6 separate regions of the Homo sapiens genome follow, and regions 2, 3, 4, 5 and 6 are each linked to region 1. The links are contacts of gene promoters, found by promoter capture Hi-C in blood cells and fetal thymus (Javierre and others, 2016). All regions are on one chromosome and are shown on one strand. The core of a region is centred on a gene start or on the middle of the fragment in contact, and the rest is flanking DNA. Distances in the headings are between cores, read along the strand shown.

The links. Contacts are between HindIII fragments. The CHiCAGO score rates a contact against its expected background, and 5 or more counts as called.
Region 2: a fragment that was not itself captured here is called in contact with the fragment with the promoter of ING3 in region 1 in 2 of 17 cell types (non-activated CD4 T cells and total CD8 T cells); the score reaches 6.6 in non-activated CD4 T cells.
Region 3: a contact is called between a fragment that was not itself captured here and the fragment with the promoter of ING3 in region 1, in 1 of 17 cell types (total CD4 T cells). The highest score is 5.6, in total CD4 T cells.
Region 4: a contact is called between a fragment that was not itself captured here and the fragment with the promoter of ING3 in region 1, in 2 of 17 cell types (neutrophils and non-activated CD4 T cells). The highest score is 7.8, in neutrophils.
Region 5: a contact is called between a fragment that was not itself captured here and the fragment with the promoter of ING3 in region 1, in 2 of 17 cell types (naive CD8 T cells and neutrophils). The highest score is 6.4, in naive CD8 T cells.
Region 6: a contact is called between a fragment that was not itself captured here and the fragment with the promoter of ING3 in region 1, in 2 of 17 cell types (non-activated CD4 T cells and total CD4 T cells). The highest score is 8.6, in non-activated CD4 T cells.

Annotation. Positions count from the first base shown.
Region 1 is chr7:120,948,189-120,952,587 of GRCh38, reverse strand. ING3 (inhibitor of growth family member 3) reads right to left here and starts at 1,811. Exons shown (of 12, transcript NM_019071.3): 1 at 1,664-1,811; 2 at 1,353-1,424. The coding sequence starts at 1,691. RefSeq lists an enhancer at 1,189-1,268. The HindIII fragment of the contact is 9,487 bases long and covers 1-4,399 here.
Region 2 is chr7:118,175,011-118,179,953 of GRCh38, reverse strand. All of the region lies in intron 1 of LOC105375470 (a long non-coding RNA gene), which reads left to right. Among named protein-coding and RNA genes, the nearest start is that of LSM8, 6.7 kb to the left of the region's middle. The HindIII fragment of the contact is 7,095 bases long and covers 1-4,943 here.
Region 3 is chr7:123,752,725-123,757,825 of GRCh38, reverse strand. No RefSeq gene overlaps it. Among named protein-coding and RNA genes, the nearest start is that of WASL-DT, 6.1 kb to the right of the region's middle. The HindIII fragment of the contact is 3,335 bases long and covers 1,951-5,101 here.
Region 4 is chr7:123,562,495-123,567,070 of GRCh38, reverse strand. It overlaps a transcript of NDUFA5 not described here and a transcript of ASB15 not described here. Among named protein-coding and RNA genes, the nearest start is that of NDUFA5, 7.0 kb to the right of the region's middle. The HindIII fragment of the contact is 3,637 bases long and covers 187-3,823 here.
Region 5 is chr7:118,194,417-118,199,474 of GRCh38, reverse strand. It overlaps LSM8 (LSM8 homolog, U6 small nuclear RNA associated), which reads right to left. Exons shown (of 4, transcript NM_016200.5): 4 at 1-5,058. Among named protein-coding and RNA genes, the nearest start is that of LSM8, 13 kb to the right of the region's middle. RefSeq lists an enhancer at 3,388-3,447. The HindIII fragment of the contact is 1,431 bases long and covers 1,825-3,255 here.
Region 6 is chr7:123,546,394-123,550,878 of GRCh38, reverse strand. It overlaps NDUFA5 (NADH:ubiquinone oxidoreductase subunit A5), which reads left to right. Exons shown (of 5, transcript NM_005000.5): 3 at 293-409. Among named protein-coding and RNA genes, the nearest start is that of NDUFA5, 9.2 kb to the left of the region's middle. The HindIII fragment of the contact is 884 bases long and covers 2,110-2,993 here.

The DNA.
Region 1 (4,399 bases), core at 562-3,061:
TTGGCACACAGTTCTGTTAATCCATAATACCTATTAACTTTAGAAAATTCTAGTTACTGTAAAGAAATGCACGTTTAAAAAGCCTGTAATATGTATAATGTAAGCCCAAATTACAAGAGAATTTAAAATTTTAAACAATAAAATATAAAAATAATTTAAAGTAAGTTACCCTTTATTTAATGCCTACTTTGTATCAGATACTAGAAATTCTAATCCATGTGTAACATTTTAAATCCTTGGATGATTCTCTTTTTATAGACAATGTAAGCCCCTCACAAGTGATAATACAGTCAGAGTCAATGAGTAAATTAGTAAAGCCCTAAAACAAACTCAGATCTGACATCAATGTCTGTGCTCAGTCCTGCAGAGAACACTACTTCAGCAAATCTTCAGCATTTCAACTACACTAAAATTAAAATGAATTTGTGAGATAGCTGGAGAACCACACACACAATTCATACTTCATATCACAATCCACTGAACAGAAAGTGGCTTCCATGCCACCACTTTTTATTATGTGCCACCTGAAACTTACCGGAAAAATATACTCATAAGCAAAGGGTATAGAAGTGGGTGTGTGGTCATGGGCAGAGAAGCCAGGAGCAGTGAAAAGGACAGGTTCTTAGCTGCAGCAGGTGGTCCCTGAGCCACCTATTTATAGTCGTTGCTCTATGAAAGAGCAAAGTTAATTTGGGGAAAAAGTCCTAGAGACTACCAAGCTATCACTGAAAGAAAAAGAAATGTTCATTAACTGCTAAAATTTTTAGTACAGCACATAAGAAACTTTACAGTGAAATCTAATTTCTGTCACTCATTTTAACCAAGAAAATGACGATTCTGTTACAATTTAAAATGTATCTAATGTGTAACTAAGTTTTCAAAATTTGACATTTGCCATGGTCTCTAAAGAGCTATATATAACCTCTGCTTCTGTGCTTTCCACTCTTGAAAAACTGTGAATAGGATGAACTTTAAAATAAGTATAAATGCTGAAATCTAAGTTCGATACGAAAAGGCTCAAGACGACATCTCAACATTTATTATGCTGACGTCCATTGAAACATAGATAACTATGTCAATGACGGTAGAGAAATATTTTTTGCACAATCCCACATTCTAGAAAGGAATACACGTGTCCCAATGCCTCCTGCTCTTGCAAAAGCCAGAAAAAAGTAGCATGGGAGGGAAGGGGAAGGCGAGATTCAGGGCTGCCAGTTCTTTTTGACAACTCCTTATGCACTAGCGGAGTGAGCCAGAGGACAGTGAAAGAGCACTAGGCGCTAGCAGTGATGACAAGCAAGTCTGGCACTGAACGCGCGCAGCGAACAGGAGTAGTAGACGCGCCGACTTACTCTGCACCTGCAGGTCCATCTCGCGCATTTCCGTGAAGCGGTCCCGCAGATCCATAGGAAGCTGCTCAATCACTGTCAAAGGGAGAGTCCGTCAGAGGGGCGGGGCCAACGGCGAAATACGCGCTTACGTCACTGCGCGCGTGCGTCAGGGGGGTCGAGGGGGCCGGCAGCCCACAACGAGGCTGCCAGTTACCGTGAGAAAGAAACATCCCCCGCCGCCCCCTCCCTCCCGCCATCTCGCTGCCCGTCCACTCGCGCTCTTGCCCGCCCGCACGTCCCACTGGCGGCCGCCGCCAGCGCCGCGCACTCACTTTCCAGATAGTCTTCTAGGTACAACATCGCGGCCCTTAGAGCTGAGGGAACAAGGGGGTCCAGGGGTTTATTTGTGTCACTCGCTGTCGCCGGAGTTTTGTCCCCTCCAATATGGCGCCTCCGCTAGCAGCACCCGCTCGACTCCGGCAAAAAAAAAAAAAGAAAAAAAAAAAAACCACTTTGGCGCCTGAGGCGCTTGCCTCACTGCCGCCCGGAGCTGCTATTGGTTGGTTCAAGCAATGACGTAGCCCGGCCGGTGTTCGCCCCCGTGCCTCTGTGGGAAATGTAGTTTTCTTCCTCCTCAGCGAGGGTTGGCGCGCTGGCGGCTCCCCTCGCAGAAACTACGAATACCGGGCGCCATTGCAAACAGTGCGTAACAGAATCCGAAATGCGGTGCCTCTGTTTATTTGTTGATTTTTGCACAGAGAATGGCGGGAGTTGTATGCACCTGCATAACACAACTAGGAACAACTTTTCACCTGTTCTTTGATGTGATTCCATGCCCCGGCGTTTGTGAGTTATGGGTTTCAAGAAGTGCCAGGCAAATAGCAAAGGTTCTAAACACTAGAATAATCAGCAAAGTTCGGGGAATTTGGATTGCTTAAAATAGAACTCTCTACTGGAATTTATCCTCATTATTCACTCTAAAATATAAAAGAGACACCTGGTTGGCTTACGTGTAATTTTAAAATAGTTTATACTGAGACTATGGAGTGAATATACATTTCCCAGATTAAAAGATGCACAAATAGTGTCAGTAGCCACTTATATATTCTAGTTTGCGGTCCATCTAATCGTCATTCTAATGTAATTGATCTATACATACAATCTGCATCCGCAAATAATAATAATAATAATCTTCATCATCACAGTGAGCAGCCATGAATTACGGATGCAGCCTTGATTTCTAATAGGCTGTTAATAGCAGTAACTTTATGTTGAGTAAATAGTCCATATTCGAGGTTGGTTGTCTTCGGCGTTCTTTAGTTTCTACTTTTCGACCTCTCCCAGCAAATGTTTTCCTGTGATATATTTAGTACGTCCCTACTCAGTTTCTTTTTAAATTGTTTTTTATTAAAAACTCTTGCACTCAATAAATGCTAGATATTGTTATTTTCCACTCTTCTTAACTTTTCGATTTTCTGGGGAAATTGTCATTAGTTCATAATTTATTGTTCATTTTCTGTTTTTCAAATTGCAGTTGAAACTGTGTGTGTGTGTTTCTTGCTTTCCTTCTCCATTACATACTCTTGTACTCAAGGTTTTCACTGCTCTTAAGCAGGAAACTTTCCTGTCGTGAATGATGAATCATGATGAATCTCAACGGAACCTTACTTCGATCCTAATAAGAATTAGAATTTTATAGTTTCTAGTTAAGTTTTTCATTACTTCCATCGAAAATCAAGTACTTTCGATCTTTTTCTCCCTTCTTTTTTTCCTCCTTTCTTCGTTTCCCATCCTTCCTTCTTCTGGCTGCTTTTAACATCTCTTTGACATCTTTTTGCAGTTTTGTAGTGATCTAAGTCTGAATTCCTTCCTTATTCCCTTTTCTTTCCTTAAAATTTTAAAATTATGCTTAGGATTTGAGGGGATTCCTGAATTTCAGGATTGGTGCCCTGCAACAATTCTAGAAAATTCTCAGCGTTTGTCTTTTCAGTATTGCTTATTTCTCATTTTTTCCATTAAGACTTTCTCTCTTTATTCTCTTATTTATCTTAATCTTTCTTTTATATGTTTTATTTTAGAATTTTCATAATTTTTCAGGTTTGGAAGTTCTATTCGGTTCTCTTTTCAAGACATCTTATAATTTCTTATACAAATTATTTAGTCTGTATCTTGTTTCTGTTAAACCTAATATTGAAACATTTATGGGCCTTTTAGTGCTATTTCTTCAGAAATGGGCACTTTTACTCATGGTGGCTTTTTCCTGTTGGGTTGCGATTTTGGACTCTGAATTCCTGTTTCTGGGATTACAAGCATAAGGATTCTTTGAGCTGGAGTTGAAATTGAGTTTTCATGGAGAGCATTAGAATTTGCTTGTCAGTTTGTTTGGAGACATCATAAACCCCTAGGACCAGATTAAATTGTCCCCTTGAGGTTTATTGTATTGCACAGATAGATTGAATTTGGGCCTCTATCCCAAATGGATTGTTACAGATTCTCAGAGGAGAATTTTTTTTTCTTTCTTTACTGGGCTCCAAGGCCAAGACAGACATGTTTCATTACTGGCCTATTCTGTGCATGAGGCTTATATGTCATTTACCCTTACATGGAGAGTATAGTCCATTGGGGCCCCAGATTTTTGTCTGCTGTAAGACTCTTCCTTTTAAACTGATACTTGGGTTTATCTTCTGACCCTGGCATGCTGCACAGCTATTAAAGTAAGAGCTCTAGGTGTCCAGAACTTGACAGATAGTCTCTGAACAAAAGCCTACTTTGGCTTGCACTTATTTCTCAGGATATTTTCATTTTCCTTCTTTTTCCCCTTTTATATTCGTTCTGAAAATTCCTTAATTTCCTACTAGTTCATCAGTGTATTTTTTTAAATCTAGCACTTTTAGTTGTTTTTGCCAGGTGGCTCTTTCAGAGTAGCTAAAATGGTATGCTATCATGAATAGAAGTACATCATTTCAGTGTAAACTGAGCTTCCTCAGGGAGTGTTCCATATTAAGGGAAATGAGATAATAAATCATTCCCAATTCAGTCAGTATAAATACACACTCCACAGAAACCAA
Region 2 (4,943 bases), core at 1,317-3,816, 2.8 Mb after region 1:
ATGAGGCAGACAGCAAATCCTAGGTGGCATAGTAATGGTGGTTGGTGAATCAGAGGTTAGCAAGATTAGGGAGACACAGGAAAAGGCAAGACTGCTTGTTAACAAAGTAGATGGGGCCAATCTGTAGAACTGTGTAAACATGATACACTTTGCTCACTAGCCAATGGCAAGGCCACGGAACATACTGGTGATACTTACACGGGCATATACTTTACCTTAAAGATCTGGAGAACCGGTATATCTCAGGAGGCCCTCTGTTTCACCTCATAAGGGGCAATATATATTAATAAAATACTTACGTATGCTTTTATGCATTCTTTATGGTATTTTTAAAATTGATTTTTATTATTAAAATTTTTAGACCAGGTGCAGTGGCTCACACCTGTATTCCCAGCACTTTGGGAGGCCAAGGTGGGCAGATTGCTTGAGCCCAGGAGGTTAAGACCAACCTGGGAAACATGGGGAAAAACCCATCTCTACTAAAAATACAAAAATTAGCTGTGCATGGTGGCCCACACCTGTATTCACAGCTACTTGGAAGTCTGCAGTGGGAGGATCACTTAAGCCCAGTGAGCCGTGATCATGCTACTGCACTCCAGTCTGGGCGACAGACTGAGACTGGTCTCAAAAAAAAAAAAAGAAAAAAAATTTTTTTTTTTTTACCAGCCATTTTTTACTCCCCAAATCCTGCTCTCCCTTTACATTATTTTTATTTTGGAAACTGGGCTGCTATAACAAAATACATTAGACTTGGTAATTTATAAACAACAAAAATTTATTTTTTACAGTTCTGGAGGCTGAGAAATCCAAGATCAAAGCAACAGTAGACTCTGTGTCTGATGAGGGCCTGTTCCTTATAGATGACACTTTCTTGCTGCATCCTCACATGGCAGAAGGGGGCAAGGCTGCTCCGTTCAACCTCTTCAGTAAGGGCACTAATCCTGTTCATGAGGGCAGAGTCCTTATGACTTACTTCCCAAAAGACCCCATCTCTTAATGCTATCATATTGGATATTAGGTTCCAACATATGAATTTTGGAGGACACCAGTATCCAGACCACAGCAGAAGCCAAAAAATGACAAAACATTCTGGCTATAATATGCTGTGTATAATACATTCCTGAAAATCTTCACATTTTAAGAAAATGGCTCACTTAAAATAAGAGCCTAAGGAAAAAATAAGTCTGGGAAAGCCCTCTCAAACTCTGAACAACTGAGCGGTGGTTCCCAAACTTTGCTACTTACTGATATGATCTTTAAAAACTGATAGCTGGCTCCCACACTCAAGACATTCTGAGTTAAATAGAATGAGGTTCAGCTGGGCCTCAGTATTCTAAAACATCCGTAGTTAACTAATAAACAACAAAGTCTGGCAACCACTGAACTGTAGTATTAACAGACAATAACAACCGAAATGAAAATAGTAGTTCATTTAGAAGGACGTGTAAAACTCCTAACAAATAAAGCAATGTTATATTAACTTAAAGAGTTTTACCTTTTTAAAAAAGTTGAAGGTTGCTTAAAGAATGACAGTTTACAGAAGGGTAGACACTGATGAGTGATGGAAACAAGGGCGGGAGATCATCAGAAGTAGCAGATGGAGAAGCAGTTGCAAACTTTGCAGGAAATGTGGAGTTGCCAGAGATGGATGGCTCTGACTCGTTGTCTGATGTCGCTTTTGCCCAAAGATGTGAGGGAGCTGCAAAATAAGCACTATCAAAATGGAGCATATGGCTGAACCAAGCCCAGGGAAGAATGGGGTCCCACACCGTGAAAGGTCATCATTTGAGTGCTATACTCCCCCAGGCCTGGTTCAATCACAAAACTAAGTGCAATAATTGTACTTCAGCTATTGTGTCTTTGTACTACAAAGCATTAAAGTGCTATGAAAAATTATGTATGAACCAACCCACTTTCCCTATTATTCTAACATTACTCTCCTGTTTAACAATCTCATGTGACCTCATGTGTACTATAAAAAACAGTACTCGGCTGGGTGTAGTGGCTCATGCCTTTAACCCCAGCACTTTGGAAGGCCAAGGCAGGCAGATTACTTGAGCTCAGGAGTTCCAGACCAGCCTGGGCAATGTGGTGAAATCCTGTCACTACAAAAAATTAGCCAGGCGTGATGATGCGCACCTGTAGTCCCAGCTACTCAGGAGGCTGAAGTGGGAGGATTCCTTGAGACCAGGAGGCAAAGATTGCAGTAAGCCAAGATCTTCTCACTGCACTCCAGCCTGGGTGATAGAGCTAGACCCTGTCTCAAAAATAAAAAATAAAAAAGACAATACTGTAACATAACAGACTATGTTAGTATTCCACTGAGAATCTGGAGTTTAAATAATGTCATCCTGCCCCTGTTTTACTTATCTCCTTCTGTGGTTCATACTGTCCTTTAGCACCAAGTAATTCTTTAGGTAGGCAGTTCTTCCACCTCTGACTTTGCCCTAGAAGGGTACTTGAATTCGTATAACTTGGGCAGCTTTATTTAAATAGCACATACAGCATATGACTAATCCAAATGGAGCACCCATACCTGATCATTTTTCAATATCTTTTTTTAAAAAATAAATTACCATGTATGTGTTATCACTATAGTGAACCAGATTAGGGAACTTTATTTTAAGCTGAGTACATTTGCTTTCTTTTTTATTGTTTTGCTTGGCTTTTAAAAATTGTCTTTAGCAGCTTGGATTGCAATACAGGTAAAATTATACTGTCATTTCCATTGAATTTTTTGCATGCCAAAATTGGAAAATAATATTGATATCAGAAATTACTTAGGTCACTAGGATCTTCAGTCTGAATTCATTCCTTAATGTTATAATCCACACAGAAGGAACAGATTGATTTGGACTTGTTGCAGACATTGTATGGCAAGGTAGAGCAATGCTAATTTATTGATTTTTTTTTTTTGGAGAAAAATACTGAGGTTAGGCAATGAGAGATGAATAATGTAAGAAGGTATATAGAAATGTAAATGGAATAGTGAGAGTGAAGTATAAGAATTACATTGACAAAAGCTAAACATAAATAACCTTGAGTGACCAATAGAAAGCAAATGCCTGAAATTACATTAAAACACATGGGGAGCAAATAAGGGTTGAAAATTACTTATTGGGTACAATGCTCACTACTCAGGTGATGGGTGCACTAAAAGCCCAGATTTCATATATGCATGTAAGAAAGCTGCACTTGTACCCCCTAAATATTAAAAAAAAATTTTAAATTAAAAACATATGGGGCAGAAAAAAATCAAGGCTTTCCCTTATTTTTGATAAATTCTCATTATATAAGTTTTGTTTCATTTTTGTAACAAATCAGAATGACTCTCCCACTTCCACCCTTTTTCTTTCAGACTATGGATCACAGATATTTAGAGCTAAAAGGGAACCTAAGAATTTTCAAATTTACATTCTGTGTCATGTGGATTAGGAAACTGAATCCCAAATAAGTTCATTGACTCTTTTAGGGTTACATAGTAGAACCTACAATCAAGGCCTCCTGGATTCTAGTTCAGTGCTTCTTACAATAGTTAATAATAAAAGTAACTGTTCTACTTGAAGGACAAAATTTTGAGTTTATATGTACATATGATCAGCGCATATCCATGGATACGTCATTGCTATTGTATGTAGACTTTTTCGGAAATCAGAAGGAATATGTATACCTTTGAGTCCAAATACTCAAAGGCAGGTTGACATTTTTCAGATGTCACTACCAATGGGAAGAATAGGAAAGGCAACTAAGATATTGTGGAAGGTAGAATAATCTCTCCTACCCCCCCAACCCCCAAAGATGTCCACATCCTAATCCCTGGGAACTGTGATTGTTACTTTACATGTCAAACAGCACTTTTCAAATGTGATTGAAGGTAAGGACCTCGAGATGGTGAGGTTATTCTGGATTACTCAGCTGGCCCCCTCTAATCATGAGTCCTTAAATGCGGAAGAGGGAATCAGAAGAGTGGGTCTGAGAGATGTGACATGAAAAGACTTGTCCTGCTGTTGATGGGCTTTGAAGTTGGAGGAAGAGGGCCATGAGCCAAGAAATGTGGTTATCTTTAGAAGCTGAGAACAGCTCTTAGTTTATAGCCAGCAAGAAAACAGGGACCTTGGTCCTACAACAGCAAGAAACTGAATTCTGCCAAAATCTAAGTGAGCAGGAAATGGATTCTTCCCTACAGCCTCCTTCTGGAGGCATACATTCTACTAACACCTTGATTTAAGTCCAGTCAGACCCATATCAGACTTACAGAACTGTAAGTTAATAAAGTTTTGTTGTTTTAAGCCACTAAGTTTGTGGCGATTTGTTATGGAAGGAATACAAAGTGATACAGATATGCAACCTCTTAATTTATTGTCTTCCTGGATAAAAGTAAAGTGTCTATACTGTACATAGGAGGTTTTGAACATTTTTTATTCATTCTAAGCAACTTAAGTACTATTGCTCATGGCCATCTTTTTCTGTGGCACAAAGTCTTTGTAAATTCTAAACTTCTACCCAGAATTTCCTCTGTGGTGACATTAAGTAAAAGGTGAGTTTCTTCAAAGTATTATTTAATATATTTGTGTGTTTTTCTCATTATACTGTCATTCTTATAAAGTGGATGCTCCACTGTCATGACAAGTAGTGGTACATGTTCAGTCTTTACATAAATCTTAAGTCATCTTCGTCAAGTACCTACTGTGTTCCACACCTCTGTTACTCCAGTGGTTTCTGCTCTTTTTTTCTCTAGGTTTTGTTTCTTGCCCGAACTCATTTTGTTGGTAATTAACAGAGCCAGTCTTTAAACCTAGACAGTCAAGCTCCAATGTGCTGCACTGCCATTGAGATTGTTGCCCAGGAAAAATTCACAGTAGTGTCAAGAAATAACCAACATATATAGACAGAGGATCACTTAAGGTTATTCAGATTTGAGTAGTTGTGACTGTTTCCTCAGA
Region 3 (5,101 bases), core at 2,369-4,868, 2.8 Mb before region 1:
TGATATCAGACTAGCTCATTGTACAAAATAACATCATGCTGAAATGACCGGTAGAGCAGGAAGTTGCAAGTACACTATGTCCTTGGTCACATAAATGAATGCTGGGGGATAGAAATGCCATGAAATATAGGAGCCTGATACCTCAGGGGTGTTTCTGGGGGTCCGTTATTCTGAGGCATGCAGAAATATGTGCTTCAAAATGAAGGACATGTTGCTATTCCTTTCGTGCCTTTCCAGCAAGAACAAGGCTTGGTGGGCCTTTCTGGATGATAATGACAAGAAGGCACAGTTGAGTGCCTTGTTTCAATCACACTGTCCAATGATCACAATGCTGCTATCTCTCAATGGAACTGAGAGCAAAAGAAGACTCTCTAGTAAGTTCAGGCTGAGGTGAGGTAGTGTGTGAATTGTCCCTTATGACACAATAAATCCAAGGGTGCTTGGAGATCCTGAGGAAGATTGGGGTGTTGTATGGACTTGCATTAAAACAGGAAATTGAGACAGGGGAACACGTTTTCCTTCTGTGTGTCAGAACATTATAATGTGCATGCATATAGATACCATCATTATGTGGGAACTGAGTCAACATACCAAGTCAGCCCTGATGCTTGTTATAGCTTTCCTCTTTCATCAGTTCAAAGCTCCAGTCCAACAGAACATATAATAAACACACAATAGCTTCAGTATGAAGAGGATCAAGATGAAAGAAAAGTGCCAATATTCTATCTTCCTAAAAGGAAATTTGAATGTGAGAAAGCGAATATGTAATTTAATTTTTAAACTGATTCTAAGTAAAGATATTGAGAGGAATGACTCCCTAAACTAGGAATGAGGAACTTATTCTAATGTGACCATCGACTCTAAGTTGTTTGCATGTTCAATGTGTTTCCTTCTCTATTAAAAAACAAAACAAAAAAATCAATGAATACTACTAACTTCCAGCCACAGGGAACTGAGAATCATGACTGATGTAACAACTATCAAGTACCATGCAATCCAGTTTTGAATATAAATGGCAAATATTAGATCAATAATTCCATGAAACCACAGTCACCAATTACCCTTCCTTCCTGCTCTGAGGTAACTAAAAGCAGGATTTTTATGTTCTGGGGATTGTATTCTTTACCAATCCCTCTTTCAATAGAGTAGGCTTATGATAAGGCTTATATATTCATTTTCATACCACCAAAAAAGGATTTGTAATAGTGAAAAAGCCATGAAATTGTTTATATTCCCTTATGCACTGCCTTTTACCCATTGCTTTTTAAAATGCAGGATTTTTTTAAAATCCAAAATACATGGGATTGATTATATAATTTTGAGCTGAGAAGGACCTTAGCAATCATTAAGTCATTCCTTTCATTTTACAAATGAGTAAAGAGAAGCATGATGAAGTTGAGTGATTTTAGTAAGATTTCATGGCTAGTTACTATCGGAACTCAGATCAGAAAAGCTATAGCTAATAAATACCTGCTTGCCCTTACAGCTATTTTGCCAGGTGTGAACAATGAAGACATTCCACCTACAGACTCTATCCTATCTAGGTCTTAAACTGACAAGAATAAATCCCAGTGGTTCATTACAAGTTCCGTCCCCTCAAAAGAATATGATTCAAACATAGTTTGTGTAATGCCATAAGCCTTATATGCTTGGGAAAGGGTGGAAGGTGGCTGGTGGGGGTGGTAAATTTCATCCCCTGGAGGTCGTCTTGAAGGTCTACTTATTGGAATCACCAGGAGGGCTTCTTAAAACATAGACTGATGAGTCCTATCCCCAGAGTTTCAGGTTCAGTGGGTCAAGAGTGGGGCCTGAGAATGTGCATTTCTAACATGTGATGCTAATGCTGCTATGAGAACTGCTGGCCAGTCTCCCCCAGTCCATTGGGATGCCAGCCTATTTTTTGTCCTGGTTATTTTCACTTTAGTTTCCAACGCTCCTGGATACTAAGCTTGCTTCCATATGCTTCCAGAGTTGCTTTCTAAGACCAAGTGAAGCCTTGACTTAGTGTTTTTGCAATCACTTCATGCTAAAAACTATTATTCCCCCAAATCCCTAAAATATGACACACATTTCTTTTCTCAGACTAGGCCCCTGGACACCTGAGCTCACTCAGGAGGAAAAAAAAAAAATCACTTTATCCTCTGGACTTGAATTAGGTTGCTGGGTCATCTCAAGTGGAGGTCATTCCTTTCTATTGCTGTTGTCACAAGCCCTGCTCCTGCTACCATTAGGTTGTGTGCAGTTTCTTATGTATTGTGTTTTCTCTCCAGGTGCTCTCAGAATACCACATGCTTAGTACTGTGTGGAAGAGTTTGGGCAAGACTGTGGTTTCTCTTTATTTGATCTCAGATCCTGTGTAACTATCTTTGTACCTGATAAAAATTCATATGTTTTTATTTGAATCAAAGGTGGTCATTTGATCTACAAATATACGTTGAATAATGTATAGGTTCAATGTTAAGACTAAAAAGATACAAAGATGAATAAGACATGATACCAGCTCTTAGAGAGCTTTGAGGCTAATGTAGGAGACAAACATTTAAAAAGTAATTACAATTTACAAATGAAAAGCCTGCATATCACTGACTTTGACAATTTATTATATCAAAATGACTTACTTCAATTTGCTTTAATGAATCAGCTAAATAGCTATTTATAGATAAATGATATCAACGTGTATGAACATATAGTACTAACCCATTCAACCATTACCAACTTTCTAAGGACAAGTAACCTAGTTAATGTGGGGGAAAAACACAGTTCTTATTAAAGACTTTGTATGGAGGCAAAAATAAATAAAGACTATTTACTTCCTAGATACAGAGTTTTACAATTTTATTATGTATGTAATATGCATGTAATTCAGTACACAAAAATGCTATCATCTTGATAAAATTGGAAAGCATTAATATTTCATATTATTGCTTTTTCTTAACAAAGACCCTCTCCCCAGTCATCAAACATCCTGAAGTTCCAACTGTCCCCAGTTGAATTCACTAGCTGCTGAGTACCTTTTGAATACTTTTTCTGTGTTCATGGAATTTCTGACCTTATGAATCCGCAGACCCTTAACAACGAGCCTGAAATCTCCAGCTCTTTTGCAGCTAGGGTACAGGTATGTGACCTTTCCCTCATCAGACACACCCATGGGCAACTGTGATTTGAAAACACATAAAGTGAAGAAGCATGTGGCAAAGGGCAGCAAGGATGGCAGCAGAAACACCCTGCTTTTAGAATCTCAGAAGAGATTCTAGTTTCCAATTCCCAATGTTAGCAGTAAATCTATAGTATCTCTGCCCAGAGATGACCACACTGAAGGGCTCACTGGAGTAGTTCCACAGTGAAACTTGGGTGTGCTTTCTAATTGTATAGAATGAGTCAGAAAATCTGACATTTGACCAACAGGCATTCCAGAAAGCGAAAAGAGAAAAAAGGGGAAGAAAAATATGAAAATAACAAAAGAAAAATTTCCAGCACTAAAAGACATGAGTTTTTGGATAAAAAGGGCCTTTGGAATACCCAGTACAATAAATGTAAAAGTATTCCACTATGGTACATCATCAACTTTCAGAATTCCATAAACAAACAGAATTCTGAAAACTTTTAGAGGTCATAAAGACTTATATACAAAAGATCAGAATCAGAATAACTTCAGATTTCAACAGCAATGTTGAAAGTTCGAAATCAATAAAATAACACCTTCAAATACTGAAGAAAACTGGTATTCAACCTGAAATTTTCTACCCTGTTAAACTAATCAACCAAGAGTGAGATTAGAATAAAACTATCAGCTATGCAAGGTCTCAAAATTTTACTATCTATGCACTTTTTCTTAGGAAGCCACTAAAGGATATACACTATCAAAACAAGGGAGTACATCAAGATGGATGACATAGGTTCCAAGAAACAGAGGGTCTAATACAGAAAGATAAAGGGAAATCCCAGGATAGTAACTCAATAAAATTCCAGACAATAGCCATGTAGCAACAGTACAGATTAATATGGGATGATGGATGGCTTTGGGAGACAGGTCTTTGATTAAAATTAGTGAGTCTAATAGATTCCTGATACACTTGATTATGTGGAAAATAATATGAGGAAGGACTTTATAGTTCTTAATATAGAAGAAATAAAAGAAATAAAATTTAAGCAAATTATTGAGGGGGGTAAAATCCAACAAAGTTAAAGTGGTCCAAGAATGTAACTTCTGTTTTATGCTGTTTTAAGTTTTGTACTACTATTTGATTTTTTAAATTATGTGCATTTATCATTTGTATAAAAATAAAAATTGATTTTAAAAATGTTACATGGTAGCAGAGACCATATCCTTGACCCCAATAATTTCAATGTGGTAATGGGGACATGTGGCATCTTCAAATTTTCCCAAGTATCCAGCCTGCCTACTCATTTATAATGTAGATTGACCTTGAGAACATTACAATAAAGAAATCAATGTTGTTCTCTCTCATTTGGAATAATAATAAGCCATTGAATATTCATTAAAGTTAAAGAGCAGCCAGAAAACCATAAGCAGCATCCTGGGAACTATAACATACTTAGCTCTTCAAATCATTTCTTGATTACAGGTAAGTACTAGGTATTTGGAGACTAGGACATATAATGGTAGTAACTATCACTGGTAATTTTGTAGCATGAATAAGTGTTCAATTTTCCACTAACTTCAATAAGAAATCAGAATGATTTGTAAATAAACTATTTATTCCTAAAAAAGAAAGCCCCAAAGAGGTTTGTAGTTAAAATGAATTTAAAAAGGAGAGGCAGAAAAAAAATGGTGTGCTAGCTTACTTTTCAGAATTTAGTTGATGAAAAAGAAAACAATTAACATTTAACTTGGGATAACATGTACTAGAATAAATTCTTGTAAGCATTGCCATATGCAACATTTACATAAAAATGTGCAGATATTTTACAAGACGAACATTTTAGACACATGACATTTCTGGAGGTTGCATGGGAGAAGTAGCACTCATTGCCCCTGCACTTTTTCTGCAAATCCAGATTTGCAGTATTCAGATTTGCTGTTGTTCTGTCTCTATAAAATCAGTTCTGCCATAGCCAAGCAGCAATTATGGCTACAATG
Region 4 (4,576 bases), core at 756-3,255, 2.6 Mb before region 1:
GCTCTATCTAGTTTTGGTGTCTTTAGCAAATATGATACAGCAGAAGCCTGAACCCAGGGTTACAACAAATCAACACATATGCATCTTTCATGATCATATGATTCTATATTCTAGAATACATCCTACAATGATAAAAATTCTTAGAATCTGGAGGAACAGGGAACAAAGACTATGACCTCATAAGCTTCTATTCATCTCAGTTCCAGTGACTATACCAGCATTGCCTCGTTTGAAAAATAAGGTCATTTCGGCCAAATCCAAATGTGGTTTCCAGAAAAGAGTGACTTAGGGTATCCAAATACATAGGTCCCTTCACAGAGGAGCAAATGGATATATAGGTGATTAATTCCAATGTAATAGTTTCTTTATATTTATGAAAATGTATATATATACATGCACATGTATCTTTAAAATGTCATTAGTACATATATGTTTGTTAATAAATATTTCTTCTGTCCTAAATTATAATTGTGGATGATATAAATACTAGAAATTAAAAATTATGATGGTAATTTGGTAAAGGCCTATTTTTCAGCAATCTGAACTGGAAAGGCTGTATTTCCATGGTTCATGTTTCTAGGGGCAGCTATCCTAAGGAAGAGGGGAGCATATTATTAAACTAATCTATTTCTCAGGGTATTAGTTTTCTAGGGTTGCTATAACAAAAGTGCCACAAATTGAGTGGCTTAACCAACAGAAATTTATTATCTCACAATTCTGGAGGCTAGAGGTCCAATATAGAGGTATTGACAGTGTTAGTTCCTTCTGAGGGCTGAGAGAAACAATCTGTTCTATGCCTCTTCCCTAACTTCTGGTGGTTTGGGGGCAATCTTTGGTGGTCCTTGGCTTGTAGATGCATCACTCTGATCTCTGCCTTCATCTTTGCTAGTGGTACTGAACAGTGTGTGTTTCTATGTCCAAATTTCCACTTTTAATAAGGACATCATTGACACTGGATAAGGTCTCACTCTAATGACCTCATCTTAACTTGATTACATCTGCAATGACCCTATTTCCAATGAAGGTCACTTTTTTTTTCTTTTTTTTTTTTTTAGACGGAGTCTCACTCTGTCACCCAGGCTGGAGTGCAGTGGCATGATCTCGGCTCACTGCAACCTCCACCTCCCTGGTTCAAGCAATTCCCCTGTCTCAGCCTCCTGAGTAGCTGGGACTACAGGTGCGTGCCACCACGCCTGGCTAATTTTTTTGTATTTTTAGTAAAGACGGGGTTTTACCATGGTGGCCAGACTGGTCTCAAACTCCTGACCTCAGGAAATCCACCCGCCTTGGCCTCCCAAAGTGCTGGGATTACAAGGCGTGAGCCACTGCGCCCGGCTAACTTTTGTATTTTTAGTAGAGGTGGGGTTTCACCATGTTGGCCGGGCTGGTCTTGAACTCGTGACCTCAAGTTATCCATCTGCCTCGGCTTCCCAAAGTGCTGGGATTACAGGCGTGAGCCACCGCACCCGGCCTGAAGGTCACATTTTGAGGTAATGGGGATTAGGACTTCAACATATAAATTTTGGGGGAAACAATTTGTATTATGGTTCCCCAGAGAAACAGAACAAATATGGTATATAAAAACATATGTTATCTGGGGAACCCTAAAGCAAATTGTTTCTCCCTAAATTCGTGTGTGGATGTGTGTGTGTGTGTGTGTGTGTGTGTGTGTGTATTATAAGCTAAATAGCCAGATAGCTGGTAAAACATTTCTGGGTGCGTCTGTTACGTCTGAGGATGCTTAGAGAAAAGATTAGCATTTGAATTTATAGAATAAGGCAAAGAAGATTACCCTCACCAATAAGGTGGCCATCATCCAATCCCTTGAAGGCTTGAACAAAGAGACAGAAGAAAGGTGAATTCACTCTCCCTGTTTGAGCTGAGACATCTATATTCTTCTGCCTTTGATTATCAGTGCTCTTACTCTTGGACTGGGACCAGGATTGATACCATTGGCTCTGTGGGTTTTCAGGCTTTTGGGCTTGGACTGAATCACAACACCAGCTTTCCTAGTTCATCAGCTTGCAGACAGCAGATTGTGGGACTTTTCAACTTCCGTAATTGCATAAGCCAATTTCTATAATAAATCTCTCTACATGTATGTGTGTGTGTATGTTTATATGTACTTGTGTGTGTATGTGTATATATATGTGTGTGTGTGTGTGTGTGTGTGTGTGTCCAGATGCTTCTCAACTTACAAAGGGGCTATATACCAATAAACCCATCATAAAATTGAAAATATCATAAGTCAAAAATCCATTTAATACTCCAATGAACTATCATAAAGTTAAGAAATCATAAGGCAAACAATCGTTAAGTCCAGATGTTTCTTGACTTATGGTGTTACGTCCCAATAAACCTATCTTAACATCAAAAAATCGTAAGTCAAAACATTGTAACTTGGAGATCATCTGTATATGTGTGTGTATGTGTGTATGTGTATATACACACACACACAATAGGATATATAAAAATATCCTATATATAGGGGTATTTTATATATATCTCCTATATATATGGCTATTTCATATGTGTATATGTGTGTGTGCATGAAATTAAAATGAAATATTAAATATCCCACTGGTTCTCTTTCTCTGGGGAACCCTGACTAATACAGGAGGTTAGGTCTGAGAAGTGGGGCAGGGCCTTGTGGATTGCAAGGTGTAAGAACTTTGACTTTTACAGCTTGAGTGAAAAAAATCATGGGAGAATTTTGAGCAAAGTACTTTTTAAAAGAATTATTCTAGCTACTGGGTTGAGAATAAAAAAAGTAAACTAATAAATTAATAGAAGTCAAGTAGGTGGTGCCATATTACACATACTGGGTGAGGCATATACATATAATAACTCATTTAATGTACTCCAGAGAGGGAGGCAAAAGTCAAAGTAGGGAGACCTGTTTTGGGTGTTCTTTTCTTGTTGTTGTTTTATTGATTTACAAAAGTTCCTTACATATTCTAGGCATCGCCTATTTTTTGGTGGCTATATGGGTTGCAGATATCTTCTTCCCGTCTGTGTTGTTTTACAATTTAAGTTGTGTCTCTTGTTATTCAGAAGTATAGAATATTAATGTAGTCAAATTCACCAACCTTTTTTTTGATAGATTTTATTTCATTTTTTCATAGATGTTTGTATTGGGTCATACTGCTCACAGTCCTGCCACATGCAGACTCCTTCTTCACACTGCCCATGATGTGGCATCTAAACATAAATCTCAATCCTGGTGCTTCCTGTTTAGAACCCTTAGAGAACTGCCTGTGGCTCTGTGACCCTCATCATTTAGCCTCCTGTAGGTCTACTGGCTCTAGGATACTGTGATAACAGCCACGTATATGTATAAAAGGCACACTTTATGTTATTGTGCTTTGCTATATTGTTTTACTTCGCAGATATTTTGCAAATTTAAAGTTTGTGGCAACTATGTATCAAGCAAGTCTATTAGCACCATTTTTTCCAACAGCATGTACTCACTTCATGCTTCTGTGTCACGTTTTGGTAACTCTTGAAATATTTCAAACTTCTTCCTTATCTATTATGGTGATCTGTAATTACTGATCTTTGATGTTAGTGTTATTAAGTGTCTTAGAGTTCAACAAACCACACCCATATAAGACAACAAACTTAAATGTTATTTGTGTTCTGGTTGCTCCACCGACTGGCTGTTCCCCATCTCTCTCCTTCTGCTCTAGCCTTCCTATTCCCTGAGATACAACAATGTTGAAATTAGGCCAGTTAATAATGCTGCAATGGCCTTTAAGTGTTCATGTGAAAGGAAGAGTCACAAATCTCTCACTTTAAAACAAAAGTTAGAAACGATTAAGCTTAGTGAGGGAGGCATGTTGAAAGCTAAGATGGGCCAAAAAGTAGGCCTCTTGCACCAGTTAGCCAAGCTGTGAATACAAAGAAAAAGTTCTTGAAGAAAATTAAAAGTGCTACTCTGTTAACACACGAATGATAAAAAGGCAAAACAGGCCAGGCGCGGTGGCTCACACCTGTAACCCCAGCACATTCAGAGACCGAGGTGGGCGGATCACCTGAGGTCAGGAGTTCTAGGCCAGCCTGACCAACATGGTGAAACCCTGTCTCTACTAAAAATACAAAAAAAAATTAGCTGGGAGTGGTGTGCCTGCCTGTAATCCTAGTTACTCAGGAGGCTGAGGCAGGAGAAATGCTTGAACCAGGGAGGCAAAGGTTGCAGTGAGGCGAGATCGTGCTGCTGCACTCCAGCCTGGGCAACAGAGAGAAAACTCTGACTCAAAAAAAAAAAAAAAAGAAAGAAAGAAAGAAAAGAAAAAGAAAAACAGCCTTATTGCTGATATGGAGAAAGTTTTAGTGACCTGGATAGACCAGGCCATCCACAACATTCCCTTAAGCCAAAACCTAATCCAGAGCAAGGCCCTGACTCTCTTCAGCACTATGAAGCCTAAGAGAGGTAAAAAAAGCTGCAGAAGAAAACTCTGAAGCTGTTAGAAATTGGTTCATGAGGTTTAAGGAAAGAAGCCATTTTCGTAACATAAAAGTGCAAGGTGAAGCAGCAAGTGCTGATGTAGAAGCTGCAGCAAGATCCAGAAGATCT
Region 5 (5,058 bases), core at 1,291-3,790, 2.8 Mb after region 1:
TTTAATTACTGCAATAGCTTCCTAACTTGAAACAATTTGCCTCCAGTTTCTCCTTCAGGTTACCAATTCTGTTCAATGCATCCAAATTCATGTTCCCTTAAACGTCTTAGATTTTTAATCCCCTAAAATCAACTTGCTGCTCTAAGAATAAAGTATTAACTTTGCACTAGTATTGAAGGCCATCTCTTCCCTTCTCACTAATTTTCAATGAAAATTTTATTTAGATAGTGAGTTGGGGGTCCCCAAGATCATACTGAGGTTCATTGATACACTTGGAATCATAGGACTCAGAAAAGCTGCTATGCTCCCAGTTGCAGATTATAGTGAGAGGATATAGATTAAAATCAGTAAATGGAAAAGGTGTGCAGGGTGAAAATCAGGAGAAACCAGGCACAAACTTCAAGATGTCCTCTCCCAGTGGAGCTGCACAGACAGCACCTAGTTCAGCAACGGTGTTTACCAACACATGCAAAGTATTGCTAATAAGCTCTCTTGAGCCTTGGTGTTCAGGGTTTTTATGAGGGTTCAGTCACATAAATATTCAGTTCCCTCATAACTGACCTTAGCTCCTGAATCTCGTTTCCCAGAGCTTAAACTGTAACAGCAAGGCCTATGGTCTCAGGCATACAAAAGCACTCTTAACAGGTAAGACATCCCAAGGACTCAAGAGATTTTCTTCCAGGAACTGGTGAAGGACAGGTCCTTTCTTTGCAATAAAAAGGATTTGAGCCTTTACTGTACAGAGAGGTCAGTCTACTCCTTATTACTCAACCACATCTTACTCCTTCTTGCCTTCCTGTCTGCCAATTTGAAGTTTTCCTAACCATCTATGGAAATCCTTACTATCCTTAGGGTCAAGCACAAGTCATCCATTTCCATGAAGATTCTCCTCCAATCTCTCCCATATTGCTATGCATAGAGGAAAATGCATCTTTGCCATGCATGGGAAGCTTTTATATATTGCCTTCAAACACCAGTTTACCGGGCATGTCATCTCTGTTACTGTCATGCAGTAAATACTCAGGAAATGAAGGATTACTAATGAGTTGTTAAGGTTTATTCTTCTTTCTTTAATGTAGAATTTCATTTGACCTAAAATTATCCTTCCAATCTTCATAGAATATTTGGTTTTAATATACAAAATTAAATATGCAAGCTCTTATCCATTCTTCATTTCAGATCTCTGGCATATTCTCATTTCTCATTTATCTTTTCACACCAAAGAAATCTAACCTTTTTATAACTTAATCACTTTGACTCTGGTTGCTCCTTTCTGTACTTTCTCTGCCTCGTGTTACTTTTAAAAATTTGATCAAATTTTTAATTTTAAAATATGTGATTAAAAACATCACATTACCTTTGCACCAGGGAAGCATACTTTCATTTACAATAAATTTCCAGTCCTGTCCAGAATTTTCATAGTTTTTCTTTTCACCAAAATTATCAGGGAATGCTATCAATTACTTCTTAGTACTTTTCCTAGGCCACAATAAATAATTTGGAGTCCATCATTCAATATCAGGATAATTGTTAGCTATCATTAATATTGACAAATTAGTATGTTCTAGGGAGTGCTAACTGCTTATCTTAATCTTGACAGTACAAGGAAGCAGGTACTCATTTTCATAGCAACTAAGACATGGTAAGATTAATATGCTAAGCTCTGCAAACTAAGTATGACTCCAGAGTCTGTGCCTTTCACTGCCATGCTACACTGGACTAGCCCAAGACCCTAATCAACAATTTCCTTTTAAAAATCATACCTCCTATGAGTGTGAATTGAAGTGTCTCTGTAATTAGCAGAATCACAATTAAAATAAAGCTTATCCAAGTCAGATTCAGAGAGCTATTTTTTAAAATAAAAATTTAAATTTTAAAATAAAAAATTTAACTTTTAACTATCATTGTGATCACTTTCAGGGCATTTATTTTAAAATGTGAAATAAGCCATAGTGCAGCATTTTCTGGCAACTTGTATCAGTTAATGAGTTTTCTAGAGTATGATTTATTATAATCATTTTGTTGATATGAGATGAAACATGATAGCTTGTGCATATTTTCATATATCAAACAGAAACATATTAGTTTCCTGCCTGTTCCCCACCCCAACACACACTAGTTTTTAATACAAGACACAATGTATTGTGTCCCTGGAGTTGTCTCCCCACCCACCCTGACTCCTGGATTCTTTTTAACGTATTTCAAATGTAATAACAATTTGGTACCATACTAATTATATGGCATTTGTAAAGCCAGTATATGTGGAAAAAAAAAAAAAACCTACATAATAGCAAAATATATGCAGTGTAATTGAACATTACCCTAAAGAGAAGAGAGAAAGCGTATCATATCCTTGTAGGGACATTGATGGGAATTTGATACCAGTTGTAGCAATGCTTGATCTGTGCCATTTCTAACAAGTAATACTCTGTAAAATAAAAGGACTTAGGCTGGGCGTGGTGGTTCATGCCTGTAATTCCAGCACTTTGGGACGCCGAAGTGGGCAGATCACGAGGTCAGGAGATCAAGACCATCCTGGCCAACATGGTGAAACCCCGTCTCTACTAAAACAAAAAAATTAGCCAGGTGTGGTGGCGCGTGCCTGTAGTCCCAGCTACTCGGGAGGCTAAGGCAGGGGAATCGCTTGAACCCAGGATGCGGAGGTTGTAGTGAGCCAAGATTGCACCACTGCACTCCAGCCTGGCGAAAGAGCAAGAAGTGTCTCAAAAATAAATAAATAAATAAATAAATAAATAAATAAATAAATAAATAAAAATTAAAGGACTTAAAAAAAAAGAAACATTAAAAAAAGAAGGAAATGAAAAGGCATAACAAAAAACTAACACAAAAATTGAGTTAAAAAAAAACTTAATGCCAAAACCAAGAAGAGGTCGGAAAGGTATCTGGAAGAACAATTCTCAGCTCCTTCATTCCCCAGATGATGCCAGTAAGTAGGAGATGGCATACTGTTAACTAATGAAAGAAATTCTCCTGGTGAAGTCCTATTTCGCCTTTATCCTTAGAATTATGCAACCTACAGACTTAGCAATCTTAAAAGAAAAAAAATAGATGGGGAAAATAATTGACTTGAATTATATTTATTTTAAAAAGACTGTTTCTAGTTGTTTTGAATGAATCCAGAACCCATAAATTATATCCCAGAATACTGAAAGAATCTGATGAAATAACACGACCTTCGACAGTAAATCTGAGTCAAGATGATTTGGTTGAGGTAGATACAGACAGATAGAAGCTTCACAAGCACAAGAATACTGTTCCCTGGCCTATCCACAGCTTTGAGCATACTGCCTGGCATGTATTAATGGCTTGATAAGTGTCCCTGACAAAATTCCAAAATCTATTTTTTTGAAGTTTGTGGACAGGTAGAAAAGAAAGCAATGGCCACTAGGAGGCAGCATCGATTTATGAAGACTAAGCACGTCTCATGGTTTCCCACTATACAGAGGAATGAAGATCACATCAAAGCATCTGACCAAATCTCACATCAATAATCCCTATAAACAGGATGGAGCATAAGTACTAGATATCTCACAATTAAATGAATTTGTCGCTAGTTTAATGGGAGCACTATGCTATTTAATGGGTATCAATCTAAATGGAGATAGCTTTACCTTATCAACATTTTTTTCAGTATTACATGTAGACAGAAAGGAATTTTTATCAAATTTGCCCATGACTTAAAACTGAGATTCACAGCCCAAGTTTTTTTAAACCCAAAATAAGTAAAATTTAATTTAATAAAATTAAATCTATATGAGGTAATGACTATACAAGTACAGAATGGAGAGGTTCCTCTTTACATGTGAAAGACCTTTGAGTTTACACTTTCAAACTCCTTGAGTCAAGAATATTCGCTGACATAGAAACAAATTTTATTGTACATTTCTTAATACTGTAAACTTACACGTACTTCCCACATAACCTCAATTCCTCATCTATTCTCTTGTAGAGATATGGTAGTCAGTGGGACAGACGCTTAAAAAGCTGACAAGACCTATATTTTTAACTTTTATACATTGGCCTTTGACTACCTGGAATAGTATTAAATAGCTGTTTACGGTTATGTCCTCAAAATCATACCAAATGTTTAAAATGCAGTCTAATGCTACTTTTTACAACCCAAGAAGATAGCTGTTATTATCCTTATCTTGAATAAGATCCTGTGTTTGAAATCAATTCTGTGGGGTTAGAGACTCATCCCAGCAGGTAAGTGCTAGGTCTTTTAATAATTCCACCACTTTCCTTCGCTGTTTAGTGACTATTCCTTTTTGCTCCATTACACAGCTGCTGAACCACAACGAGTAGGGCCCAAGAAAATTTTTAAAGCACCTTAGGTAATTGTAATGAAAACGGCCCACAATGCAGGTTTGGGAACTGCGTTAGATCATCTGAATATTTCTCATCAGGCTTCTGATAGATGCTTGATAGCAGATTTTAAGACTATACTTTCTGATAACAGGCAGTATTGTATAAAAAGCTGAAAGACCTAGTTGAATTTGAGCACTGTTACTTACTAGTGCTACCTCTTACAAGTCACTTGACCCTGCTGAGCCTCAATTTTCCCATATATAAAATGATCATTGTAAGCACTCAGCACCAGGCCTGGCACATGATATGCACTCAATAAATACTACCTACTAATTTTGAAGATGAAGGCCCAGAATATACTAACTATATTGTCAGTTAAGAGTTGCCTTACAACCCTGGCTACTAAATTGTCTGGTTCACATGCCATTACAAAGGGCCTTTACTTTCTCATTCCCATGATGAATCTCAGGTTACACGGCTGAGGAAAATGTTGACATCGTTATTCTGTATTTGCATTAAATACCATTTAAAAGTTGTTTTTATCATACTTATATCTCACATTATTACCTTAAAAATTCCGAAGGATGTTATAAAGTTGTTAAACAGGATGTTTAAGCAAATATTAGTAAAACTTTCTCTCTTGCTCTTCTGGGATCAAGATTTGTAATATTTAGCCAAAACTGTCAGCATGTGAGGCCAAGTTACCAAAGTGCTTTGACATAAAAGCAA
Region 6 (4,485 bases), core at 1,302-3,801, 2.6 Mb before region 1:
ATAAGTTAGTTTTGTTTCTACTTGTTATCATACCTTTGACTTATCTAGAACTTGTTATACACAGAAAATACAGAATGTTCCCATGTTTATATACAGGTTTTTCCTAAGTTATAAAGGGTGTAGATAGGGCACAGACATAAAGAAGTCAGAGCAAAGAAGAGTTAAATTAAAAAAAAAAAGCAAAAAAAAAAAACAGATGTGAGTTTTGTTTGTTTTGTCTTTGAGACAAGTGTTCCATTAAGTCTTTGGTAATATTTTAACCTATGGAAATTTGTATGGTTTGTCTTTTCAGAGGCTAAGAATATTGTACACAAAGATTCTTGATGTTCTTGAGGAAATCCCTAAAAATGCAGCATATAGAAAGTATACAGAACAGATTACAAATGAGAAGCTGGCTATGGTTAAAGCGGTAAGTAGCTAAGTCAGTTTTGTTGTCTTGTGTAACATTTAACCAAAAAAGTTTAGTTCCTTATTTTTTATATATTCGACACACTTTTCTTCTATTCTCCTTCCTTGAATGCTCTTTTCCCATCATTCCTCCCTTTTATTCAGCAAACTCTTGTTTATTGAGTGTTTTCTATATGCAGGCCTCTGTTACATACTGGAGTTTGAGACTAGGATCAGATCCTTCCTTGAAGTAACATTGTAGCTGTTCCTTTTACCTCTCTTCACTATTTAGTCCTTTATTGATCTTTTGCTTTTTATCTTGGATATATCAATCTTGATCTCCTTTTTCTAATCTTAGAGAACAATAAAAGCAAAACAAAAAAGGGCATTTTTTTTTCAAAGAAACCTGTCAAAAAGACTAGACTGTTATTAAGTAGCAGTTAATAAAAGTCTAGACTGCTGATTCATACCAAACTATATTGTACTATTGTTAAATTTTCACACTAGCAATCATTAAATGGACTTTATGTAATTATCTAAAATAGTGCTTAGAAACTCTGAAGGTAATTTATATACATGCATAAGTGATCCTAGTCACATATATTTCTTCTTATTAGATTACCAGACTATATAGTTCAAAGAGAATTCCTATCTTTCGTTAGGTATGCAACAAAACAATGCAGTTTGTATTATATCGTATTTTGTATTGTATTATATGATGGGTCTCACTCTGTTACCCAGTCTAGAGTGCAGTGGCACGATCACAGCTCACTGCAGCCTTGACCTGCCAGTCTCAAGCAATCCTCCTACCTCAGCCTCCCAAGTAGCTGAGACCACAGGCACTCACCATCATGCCCAGCTAATTTTTAAAATTTTTTGTAGAGGCGGAGTTTCACTGTGTTGCCCTAGCTGATCTCAAGCTCCTGGCTTCAAGTGACCTTCCTGCCTTAGCCTTCCAAAGTGCTGGGATCACAGGCATGAGCTACCTGCACCCGGTGCCTCACCTATTTTATCATCATCTTTCAAATAGCCTCAAATGTTTTTAGCTTGTTCCTATCTTAAAAATAAAAAAAACTGTATGCTTGTATTTTCCTTTACTTATTGTCCTATTTTTGTTTTCTCCCATAGCCAGTTTCAACCAAAGAAGAGTTTACTCTCATACTTCTTTACTTACTGGTTCCAAAATCCTTTTCTCTGCTATTTAAACTGCCTTATAACTAATTGATCTGTTTGTACTTCCATTATACTTCATTACATGCTCCACCATACAGCCAATAATAGACTGATTTTTTTTTCAATATGTAAATCTTGTGATGGTACAGTTGTCCCTTGGTATCCATGAGGGATTGGTTCCAGGATTCCCATGGATGCCAAAATACAAGGATGCTCAAGTCCCTTATATAAAATGGCATAGTATTTGCATATAACCTATGCACATCCTCTTGTATACTTTAAATCATCTCTAGGTTACTTATAATACTACAATGTAATGCTGTGTAAGTAGTTATACTGTATTTTAAAAATTGCTGTATTGTTATTTTTATTGTGTTTTTTTGAATATTTTCCATCTGTGGTTGGTTGAATCCATTCTTAGTTGAATCCACAGATGCAGATCCTGAGGGCCAACTGTGCTGTCTTGCTTAAAATCTTACTGTGGTTTTCTGTTCAGTGTTTCTCAAAGGCTGAGTTTAAGGATTTATGTTGAGCTGGTTGTATGAAGCTTGCTTAGCTACCTTTATCTGCATGATTTTGATGTGTGGCCATGTTTGGGAACCACTGGCCTAACAGGGTAAAAACATGGTATAGAAGGCCTTCTAAGTTCTGGCTCTTGGTTATTTTCTCAATCTGATCCTGTTGCTTCCTGTTTTATACTCTATACTTAAGCAGTACCAAACTGCTGGCAGTTCTGTGGATTCCTTGCATTTTTATTTTTGTGTTCATTTGTATTTTCTCATTTCCTGGAATGCCTTTACGTTGTTTGGTAGTTCTTACTTTTTCTTCATAAATCATCACTTCTTCTGTGAAACCTTTTCTTACTTTCTTAAGTAGAGTTTGACAACTTTGTTACCTCCTTTCCATTGTACCTTCATGCTGTATTATGTCTCCACCAGCCATAAGCTACTTGTTAATGATATTGGATTCAACTTTGTATCCTTAGACTCTAGCATGGTACCTGGAACATAAGGTTCCTTAGAAATGTGTCTTTATCCCAAAGGCTAGATATAACCCCAAACACTTAACAGTTGTATCTCTGATTCCTGTTTTTGGTAAAATTATCACAGATTTTTAACCCTGCATACAGCCACACACAAAATCTTTAGTGAATATTGCCATTATTATAAAATATCTATTTACTAAGCCTAAGGTGGAAATAAAAGTAACTTTTTTTTTCAGATTATTACTAGGGAGATAGTACTATTTTGGTGAAAAGCGTTGTTTGTGTCCCTGTCCAAGATTTTCATCTTAGTTCTAATACTTATTTGTGGAGTGACTTGGCATATTGCTAGTTTTCTCGGTCTCAATTTCATCATCTATAACGTGGGTATAATAATACCCACCTCGAACACTTTTTGTTAGAACCGAATGAGGTAATGCACGTAAAAGCTTAACATAGTCCCAAGTATATAGTGAGCATTCAGTACATGGTACCTTATCAAGTTTAATAGCATTATGCCATTGGTGACTAAAAATCACATTATTCACTATCGGTAAGACAAATTTTGAACTGTTCACCTAACACAGGCTTTTTCTGAAATGAAAGTGTCGTTGAACTTTCCTTGCCTTCTTTACCTTCACTCTCCTGAGTCTCTTATAACAGTGACCAGCTTCCCTGTTTTGTTTTTGATTTTTGGTCTCTCATATGAGTTAATTCCCTGTTAAATAATCTGTCTTAAACATGCTTATTACTTTTTCCCCTTTTCTCCCCCTTTCAGCTGTTTTTTATGTATTCACTTCTTTAACCAAGAAACATTTATTGAATGCCATGTATGGTTCTAGGCATGGAAACTTGTGCCTAGTTGGCACAAAACAGATAAAAATCCTTTCCTTCTTGGAGATTACATGTTAGTGATGGGAGACCAAAAGAAAAAAAAAAAGTAAAAACTGAGTAAAGACGTACATAGTGTGTTAGAAAATAGTAAGTGCAGTGAAGGAAAATAAAACAAGGAAAATGTGTGCCATGGTGGGGATAGGGGATGTTACACTATGTATTAATTTCGTATGGCTGCTGTAATATTCCCACAAACTTGGTGGCTTAAAACAATGTAAGTTTATTTTATTAGACTTCTGGAGGCCAGAAGTTGGAAATCAACATCAGGGACCCAAATCAAGATGGTGTTGTCAGGGCTGTGCTTCCTTTGGAGGATATTGGGTAGAATCTGTTCTTGCCTCTTTCAGCTTCTGGTGGCTTTTGGCATTTATTGGCTTGTGGTCTCATCACTGCAATTTCTGCCTTTGTGGTTACATTACCTTTTCCTTTTCTGTGTGTAATATCCCTCTGCCTCTCTCTTATAAGGACACTTATAATTGCAGTTAGGGACTATATGGATAATTCAGGAAAATCTCCCCATGTCAGCATCCTTAACTTGATCATATATGTGAAGTCTTTGCTGTATAAAGTAACACTCACAGTTTCTAGAAATTAATACATGTATATCTTTTGTGGTATTTTTCAGCCTATCATAATGCAAATTATCAGTAGTTAATCAATAAGAAGGTGTTATTTGAGCAAAGATTTGAAAAGTGGTGAAGAAACAAGTGATGCAGATACCCTGGGCCATCCAGCAAGATACCCTGAGGCAGTAACATATCACGTCTTGTGTTGAAAAGCAAAATGTATTATTTTCTCCCTCTTTATTCCATTTATTGGCCAGAAAAACACCCTGAAAAGACAAAGCCTTATTTACATATGTGGGTATATTTACAGAGCATGATTTCTGGCTCAAAAAGCTCAGTTTACTAGAAAATAACTAAATGTCATTGAATGTTCTAGGTACTATATTTATTAACATTTTGTTCTTAAAAACTTCTATTAAATAATTATATACATTACAAATGTGTAGAAAAAAAGGACTTTTCCAGAACAACAAAACCCTTGCC